Linked DNA regions of Homo sapiens: region 2 is linked to region 1. Evidence: promoter capture Hi-C in human tissues and cell types (Jung and others, 2019). All regions are on one chromosome and are shown on one strand. Each heading gives the region's core, a stretch centred on a gene start or on the middle of the fragment in contact. The rest is flanking DNA. Distances are from core to core; before and after follow the strand shown. Region 1 holds the start of MATN1 (matrilin 1). Region 2 holds the start of LINC01778 (long intergenic non-protein coding RNA 1778).

What was found. The method cuts DNA at HindIII sites, captures the fragments that hold promoters and counts their contacts. A contact is called where the count stands out against the background at its distance.
Region 2: a fragment that was not itself captured here is called in contact with the fragment with the promoter of MATN1 in region 1 in 4 of the 25 tissues and cell types used here (dorsolateral prefrontal cortex, heart right ventricle, spleen and 1 more).

The regions. Positions count from the first base shown.
Region 1 is chr1:30,721,340-30,725,726 of GRCh38, reverse strand. It overlaps MATN1 (matrilin 1), which reads left to right and starts at 2,142. Exons shown (of 8, transcript NM_002379.3): 1 at 2,142-2,269; 2 at 3,976-4,322. The coding sequence starts at 2,176. It overlaps MATN1-AS1 (MATN1 antisense RNA 1), which reads right to left. Exons shown (of 4, transcript NR_034182.1): 2 at 4,005-4,387. The HindIII fragment of the contact is 16,103 bases long and covers 1-4,387 here.
Region 2 is chr1:30,821,826-30,825,788 of GRCh38, reverse strand. LINC01778 (long intergenic non-protein coding RNA 1778) reads right to left here and starts at 1,137. Exons shown (of 3, transcript NR_146732.1): 1 at 961-1,137. RefSeq lists an enhancer at 1,410-1,912. The HindIII fragment of the contact is 5,771 bases long and covers 1-3,963 here.

The DNA.
Region 1 (4,387 bases), core at 893-3,392:
TTTATAGGGAAATGGAACAGGTTCGTAGTTAGTTTTCATTCATTCCTTCATTTGCTTACCAGAGATCCTGTGCCAGGCACCATGCTGGGTCCCAGGGATTCAGTGGTGACTGAGACGGGCAAGCCCCCTGCTCGGAGGGAGCTCACGTCCTTGGGGAGACAGGTAACACCTTAATTACACCATTTTGGGAAGGGAGAGGCACCACCATCATCACACCTTGCAGCATCTCTGGAGAAGAATTCGACTTCAAAGTTGTAGCAGAAAAAGGAATCAGCAGCTTCAAGTGGTTTTTGGAATTGGGGAGGGCAGTGAATTAGGCACACATGAAATATAAGGGGAAAAAGTCAGAAGGCAATGCTCTTAACCTCCTCCTTCTCTAACACTGGTGCAAAGGGGAGTGAGGCCTGAGCTTTAGGCTTGGCTCTGCCCCTAAACTGGCTGGTGGCTTCGGGTAAGTCAGTGAACCTCTCTGGGCCTCAGTTTCTCCATCTGACAAATGGGCCAAGAGACTCAAATCTGCTGACTTCACAGGTTTGTTGGGTGAGCAAATGAGATAGAGTGATAGAATGAGTAACTGCCATGTCAAGGGTGGAAGGGATTGTTATAATTATTGCTAAAGAGTGTGGTAGCGGTGAGTTGGGTCTGCTGCACCCAGCAGTCGCTTTTTGTCTGTACATTTCCTTTTATTGAGGTATAATTTACACAGAGTGAAGTGCATAGGTCCCAAGTCTTAGGATTCTGCCTCCTGGAGCAATGACAATCCTTTAACTCCATTTCCACTTCTGTCCCCCTCTTGCCCCTCACATGGGGCAGGCAGATCAAGAACGACCATTCCCACTGCACCATGGCAAGCTGAGGCTCAGAGAGGTTAAGTCACCAGCTCCAGGTCACACAGCCAGTTAGGAGCAGAAGTGGCTTTGAACCTGGATCTCTCAGGTAGCCAAGCCCATGCTCTTTCTGCTCTATCTCATGAACTACTTGACCCAAATGCAAAGAAGGGGATCGTTCCTGCTGATGTTACTTTGTTTAGAAGGCTTTATCTTTGCCTTCTCTGTGCTGGGCCTGATGCAGAGTTGAATCCACTGGCTGACAGGTGAGGTGGGCCAAGCAGGGACCCACAGGGGGAAGAGATGGGCAGGGAGAAGCCACCTACATCAAGCTACACTGAGACAGCAGCATGGCTGAGAGCCGGGCCTGGGGCTCTATCCTGGCAATAACACTTCTTAGCTGTGTAACTTCAGACAAGTTATTTTACCTCTCTGTTCTTTAACAGTAGCTGCTTTAAAAAGTTGTCAAGAGGATTAACTGAGAAACCTCATCTAACTCCTTTGCTCCTTGAATCAACCCTAGGAGGCGCTATTACCATCCCTAGTTTCCAGATGAGCAATCTGAGACATGAGAGGTGAAGTCACTTGCCCATGGTCACACAGGTGGTTTGCTGGTATAGCAAACCCAGGTAACCTGGCTCCCAAGTCTGTGCTCTTAACCATGGTCTCCACTGCCCTGCCCATACTAACAGTGAAGGTACATGTTAGCCCTAATTATGACCTTGAAAGATTCTACAAGGCAGAGAGTTAGTGAGAGGAAAGGATTCTGGGCAGATGGCCCTGCATGTGTGATGGCCTGGAGGCCTTCGAGGAGAATCCAGGGGTAGCTGGAGAGCAGGGCGTGTGCGGAGAGCAGGGCACAGTGAGGCTGGGGAAGGGGAAGTGAATTTAATGAGAAACTTGGGGTTGTGAGTGGGGGAAGGATTTGGGTGTGGGATGAAGGTGCAGGACAGGGCTGGGCCGGGCCATTGGACTCAGGTATGCCTAGGCTTGGGGTGGAGCTTCAAGGCAGCGCGGGCTCCAGCCCCTGGAAGAGCCACCCCCCACCCACCTGAGATTTCCCAAATTCCAGCTGCCGCTCTAGTTGCTTCTGCAAGCAAAGGAGCCCTTGTGGTCAGAGGGGCCTCTGAAGCCTGGGCCAGGCTCTCCCGCCCTCTCAGGGCACACACACCTCCATTCAGCCCAAGCCCCGCCCTTTGGGGGGGCTGGGGGCCAGGGCGGGCTGCCCCCACGTCAGTCGTCAGTTGGGGGCCACCTGACCCAAAGGCTGGGCGGGCAGTGGGGTTGATAAGACCTGGACCCCACTGGTCCCACAACCGTGCCGGCTGCTGCCCGTGCTGCCAGAACTATGAGGGTCCTCTCTGGCACTAGCCTCATGCTCTGCAGCCTGCTGCTGCTGCTCCAGGCCCTGTGCAGCCCTGGCCTCGCCCCCCAGTCCAGAGGTGAGGGGGCTTGCGTGAGATGGGGGCTACTGAGCTAGTGGGCCCTGACCCTCAGCACTGGGGGCTGGGTACCGATATGGCAGGGAGCACACGGGATCCAGGATGGGGAAGGGAGCAGGGCGGCAGTGGTGGGCAGTGGGCTGGTGCAGGAGCAGACAGGGACCATGGTGCTTATAAGGGTCAGGGCAGGGGTGCTCCTCAGCCCTCAGGGACCATGCATGAGGCAGGGACCTTGGTCTTCCAGGTCTCTGGGGAGCAGAAGCTACTCAGAGAGCTGGCTGACGTCTGGAGCTGCACCAAGCCCAGGGCTGAGCCCATGGCTCTTTGATGACAGCAGACCTGGGATGCCAAGAGCTCATGCCCCCTTTGCAGGTCCTTCCAGCCTTGGGCTCCCTGGGGGCAATAACACCCCCCAGAGTTTCAGGTTTGGGCACTGAGTCCTGGAATGCCCATTCTTCCTGTACAGATGGGGAAACTGAGGTCAGTGAGGGCCTAAGACCACACAGTGAGATAGCGCCAGAGCCTCTAGGTTATTGATCTACTGCTGTACGGTGTGGCCAATTCCCTTTCCCTCTTTGGGTCTCAGTTTACCCATTTGTAGCCTTAGCGAGTAGACAGCAGGGAGCCTGCTGCATGGTGATTTCTAAGGTCTCCTGAGGAACTCTGATGTCCAGAGCCCCAGTCTAGGGCACTGTGAGTTACTGTGACTTGGGGGTTGGGACGGCCCTGCACGTTTCCCCTTTCCTCTTTGGGATTGGCTCTGCTCAGTTCAGACTCCGCATGGGATGGGGAGGGAAGGGCCTTTGTAGTGAGACCTTCCTGACTGCAGGCCCAGGCCAGTGACAGTAGCCTTATTCTCTCCACTGGACATGTGAGATCACGGAGGCTCAGAAAGGTGCAATGATCTGCCCAGGGCCCCACAGAGTGGCTGAGCCAGGATTTGAACCCAGGCCTGAACTCACTCTGACCCTGCATACTTCCCAGCACAGGGTGCTGCCTTCTTGGGTCTCTGGAGGACATTGCTCCTCGGGGGTGTGTCTTGGTGTGCACCTGATCAGGCTGCCGAGGTGGCCACCAGGAATTCCTGCTCCTTTTCCCTGTCTTTGGCAACCCGCCAGCAGGCGCTGCCAGGCTGAGGGAAACTGGTTCCACTTTGGTGATTTGCTTTGATGCTCAGATGAAAGAGGCCATGTTGACGGGCACTGCTTTGGCTCTCAAGCCTGTGCCCATGCCTGGAGGGCCCATCCTTGGTGCCCTCCTGCCCAGCTAGAAGAAATAGCTGCCCTTGTTTCTGGCAGCAAGTCTGGGCTGAAACCTAAATGTGTTTTCAAGGCCGCAGGGTCCTTTGCCACCCCTGGAATACTCATTGCTTGCCTGGCCCCCTGCTGGCTCCTCAAAACATCCTGTAAGGAGGGATTGCTAGCTCACTGCTCAGATGAGGAAACTGAGGCTCAGAGAAGTGAAGCAAATGGCCCAAGGCCAGGCTTGGCCCTCTGTGTTCCCCATGGGCTGAGCAGGGGGCCTTTGGCAAGTTGCTTGCTGGTGTCTGCATGTTGATAAAAGGGCTCAGCTGCCCAGCTGAAGTTTGCAGCCTACTGGGCCCGAGGCCTCGCACCTGGATCTAAGAAGCCGCACTCTGTGTGTTCAGGCCCAGTCCCTGACCTGTGTCTCTGCTCTCTGCCTTACCCCTCCTGCCCCACTCCCAGGCCATCTCTGCCGGACGCGGCCCACAGACCTGGTGTTTGTTGTCGACAGCTCTCGCAGCGTTCGGCCTGTTGAATTTGAGAAAGTGAAGGTATTCCTGTCCCAGGTCATCGAGTCGCTGGACGTGGGGCCCAATGCCACCCGGGTGGGCATGGTCAACTATGCCAGCACCGTGAAGCAGGAGTTCTCGCTGCGGGCTCATGTCTCCAAGGCCGCACTGCTGCAGGCTGTGCGCCGTATCCAGCCGCTGTCCACAGGCACCATGACCGGCCTGGCCATCCAGTTCGCTATCACCAAAGCCTTCGGCGATGCAGAGGGTGGTCGTTCCAGGTCCCCTGACATCAGCAAGGTACGTGCACGCCACCCTGCTAGGATGCTGCTGTTTGGAGGCTCCCGCTCGGAGTTATGAGCTTT
Region 2 (3,963 bases), core at 691-3,190, 100 kb before region 1:
GATTCTTGAAACGAAAGTTGCATACACAAGCTGACACAAATATCATATGGAAGGAGAGCGGTGATCCTATCTGGCTGCCAGAGAAGCCCTCAGAGCCTCCCAGGTGAGTTGGTGCCATCTCCTCAGTCACCTGAACTATGGCTCCACGTCCTTTACACCTCCTCCTGAGTTTGGGTCTCTCCATCTCTACTCCAGCTCGGGTAGCCTTAGTCCCCCCTGCCCTGACTTTCCCCAGTCCCTGCAATGACTGGTCTCCTAGTCCCCTCCAGCCCATCCTCCACACAGCTGCAAGAGTGGAGATCTTCCTAAAATGCAAACCTAATCATAGCCCTCTCCCCTTCCATCCCCCAACTGCCTGAGAATGTGGTCCAAGATCCCTTAGCACGACATTCAAGCCCTTTGGGATCTTGTTCCTGCTTCCCCTTTCAGCTTTACTTTAAACTCCTCCTCCTCTCCAACACCCCGAACCCCACCATCTAATTTCCTGCCATAGTGCCTCGAGTGTTCCTTGCTTTTTACTGCCTCCAGTCTTTGCGCAGGCTGTCCCCTCTGCTGAGAATCCCTTCCCCACCGTTCCTCATCTGGCTCTTTCAGGTCCTGGCTCTGTATCCCTTTCTCCCAGCAGTCCTCCTGATTCGGTAGGTTGGATAGGGACCCCTCCTCTGTGTTCCCACAACCTCCGTGCTCCCTCTATTTTAATCCTTAACACACTGCCTTGCCATTTTCTCCTGGACTGCTTGCTTGATCAGACTGTGGGGGTGGGGGGCTTTGTGAGGGCAGGGGTGGAGGTGGACTCATCTTTGCGTCTGCAGAGCCCAGGTGCACCTGGATGCTGGAGGGTGCTCATTGCTGTTTGCAGGGTGTATGGATGAGTGTGTGGTTCCAGGTTGTGGGGGCGGGGTGGTCTTGGCAAGGGACTGTGGGCCAGGTTGAGGGAGAGGGCCGAATGGGCGTCTTTACAGGAATTCTGATGCCTGGGCCAGCAGGAGCTCAGCTTTCCCCTTCTGGCCTGAGTAGGGGGTCTATGGGGCTCAGTCGGAGGGGAGGGGTCCCTGGGCCCCATCATAGTCTGGAAAGAGGAGTGGACGCGGCTCTCCCGCCCGGAGCTTCCTCCGAACATCCCTCTGCAACGCCGGCCTGGGCTGTCATAGCAACAGCCCGCCCCGGCGGGGGCGCCGGCCAATGGCAGCCGGTGCTGGTGAGGTAATGTCCCGGTCTGGAAGCCCATTGGCTCCATTTTTGTCCACTTCTGGGTCCGGGCCTGCGGTGGGAGCCGCGAGGGGGAGGACAGAGCATGCGCAGGGAGCCCAGCTGTCTACACCGGCGGCGCGATTCCTCTCCCTGCGCTCCCCGCTCTCCCTCTCAGTTCTGGGCTGGCTACCTCTGTCCTTCTCCTCTCTCTCTGCGTGCCGTACCTGTCCCTGGTTGTGTCGGTCGTTTGGTGCGTCTGTCTCCCTGACTCTCTTGGGGTCTCGGTGGCCCCTTCTTCTTGCCCCTGTCTCTGCCCCGGGGTCTCTGACTCTGAGTGCGCCTCCTCGTCTTGTCCAAACAAGGGCGCAGTGAGAGTTCCTTGACTTGCAGCCAGAAGGTGACTCACTGCTTCAAACCGCAAGGCCGCCCGGCAAGCCTCCGGCACCTTCTTCCCGAGTCTGTGGGAAGCTCTGGCACACACACAGGCCGAGGGCTTGAGATCCCGAGAGGCCCGGGCTGGCCTTTCCCTGGTTGGCCTCACCAGACCTTTGTTCTTGTTGACTTGTTGCCCAGTCAAGGGAAAGGCAGGACGGTCTGGGCTTTGGGGAAGGGAAGGGGACAGATTTAGAGAACAATTGGGCATGAGCTTCCATAATGCCAGCAGGGGAGGTTAGACAGCTGGAGGGACTTCCAGAAAACTACAAAGGCATAGGCACTGGGCCGAGTGAATGAAAAGGGCAGTTGGACTTTGCTCTACCCACCCCTCTGTCTGTCCATCCATCAACACAACACATTGATGCCCATCAGTGCCAGGTTCTGGGCTTGGCGATGGCTCAGTCCCCTGAGCGCCTGGAATCACAGCCCAGTCTGGGAGGCAGGCACACAAATCCTGGGTTTCAATGGGATTCCAGAAGAAGGCAAAACTCACCCTGCCAGGTGGGGTGCTTGACTCAGGCAGGGAAGCTTTGTGGAGGAGGGGGTCTTTGAGCTGGTGTTTGGGAGGATGGCCAAAAGCTTGTTTGGATCAGCCTGGGCAGGGCACAATGACAGACCCATCTGGAAGGATCAGGGGTGGTTGGAAGGTCCAGGAATGTGAATACCTGCATGAGGGAGTTTGCACTTGAACTCAGGGGCAGTTTGCAGCCACCCAGGGATCAGAGCAAGGGAGAAGTGTGGTCAAAGTGGTTTTCGTGCAGTCATGCCGGTGACAGAATCTTGGCTGTCTTGCTCAATGCTGCACCCCAGCCCAGGGTAGAGTGCCAGGCCCACAGTGAGTGTTCACACACTTGTCGAAGAAAAGCGTGAACTGAAGGGGAGAGGTTCTGATGGATGAGGGCTGAAATGATGAGGTCGTCTTCATGTGGTGGTGGAAGGGAGAGGAAAAGGGATGGGTTCAAGAAAGGTAAAGGACAGGTAGAAGTGATGGGCCCTACTGGTTTACTGGAGGTTGTGGGGGTGATGGAGAGGAATCTGCTTGGGGTAACACCTATGTTTCTGGCTTGAGCAACTAAAGGTTGGGGGAGAGGGAATACGGGTGGGGTAGATTTCAAGGGAAAGGTGGTTAGTTCAGAGTTGGAGCCTCAGCATCTGAGATGCTTGTGAGACCTCTGGGTGGGGCTGGGTGGGAGAGGTCTGGGCTGGGGTGGCCTGCATAAAGGTGGTGGCTGACGCTGTAAGTAGACATGAGCTGCTTAAGAACTGGGACATGGCCAGGCGCAGTGGCTCACACCTGTAATCCCAGCACTCTGGGAGGCCGAGGCAGGTGGATCACGAGGTCAGGAGATCGAGACCGTCCTGGCTAACACGGTGAAACCCCGTCTCTACTAAAAATACAAAAAATTAGCTGGGGTGGTGGCAGGCGCCTGTAGTCCCAGCTACTCGGGAGGCTGAGGCAGGGGAATGGCGTGAACCCGGGAGGTGGAGCTTGCAGTGAGCCGAGATCGCGCCACCGCACTCCAGCCTGCGCGACAGGGCGAGACTCCGTCCCAAAAAAAAAAAATAAATAAATAAATAAATAAAGGAAAAAGAAAGAACTGGGACATTTACGAGCAGGTTTCTCTGGTGAGGGGGTCTTTTTGAACCCCAAGGAGACCTGGGTAGGAGTCAGAAGTCCTGGGTTTTTGTGGATTCTGACACTGGCTTGCTGTGTGACCTCGGGCAAGTCATTCCTCTCTGGGCCACTGTCCCCTGATCTCTCAGCAGAGCCTGTCAGAGGTGGAGAGTGACCTGGACCACTTCTGTTTTTTAAGGCCTCTGGATATGGTTAAAAAAAGAGATGTGCCCTAACAGGGTAACAAAAATTGTGGTTATTGACTATGTTCACATTTACATGTTAACATTGTGAACAGACACAAGGATTGTGAATAGACTGTCATTTGAAGGTTAAAGTCCAGACCAGAGTCATGTTGGGAAATTTGTCCCCTGGTTCTGGCCTTCCTGGTTGCTTGGAGTAATTGCCCTTTTAGATAGGAAAGCTGCCTGCCTGGGGGTAGAGAAGGGGTGAGGGTACGTGGAGGCCAGAAGGAGCTGGGCCAAGGTTTTTGTCTGAGCAGGAGCTCATAAGTTCTTGCTCTAAGCCTGGGCATTCATGCCCCTCTTCTAATTCCTGCCAGCTCCCAACTTGGAGTCTTTTCTCCAGGAGCCATCAGAGGCCATGCCAGTCCCAAAGCAGGCAAGAACACTGTTGCAGCTCCTGCAGGACCACCTTCCTTTCCTGTTCATCCCTCAGCTCCTCCAAGATGAGAGCATTAGATGAGCCGGGCCCAGGCTCTG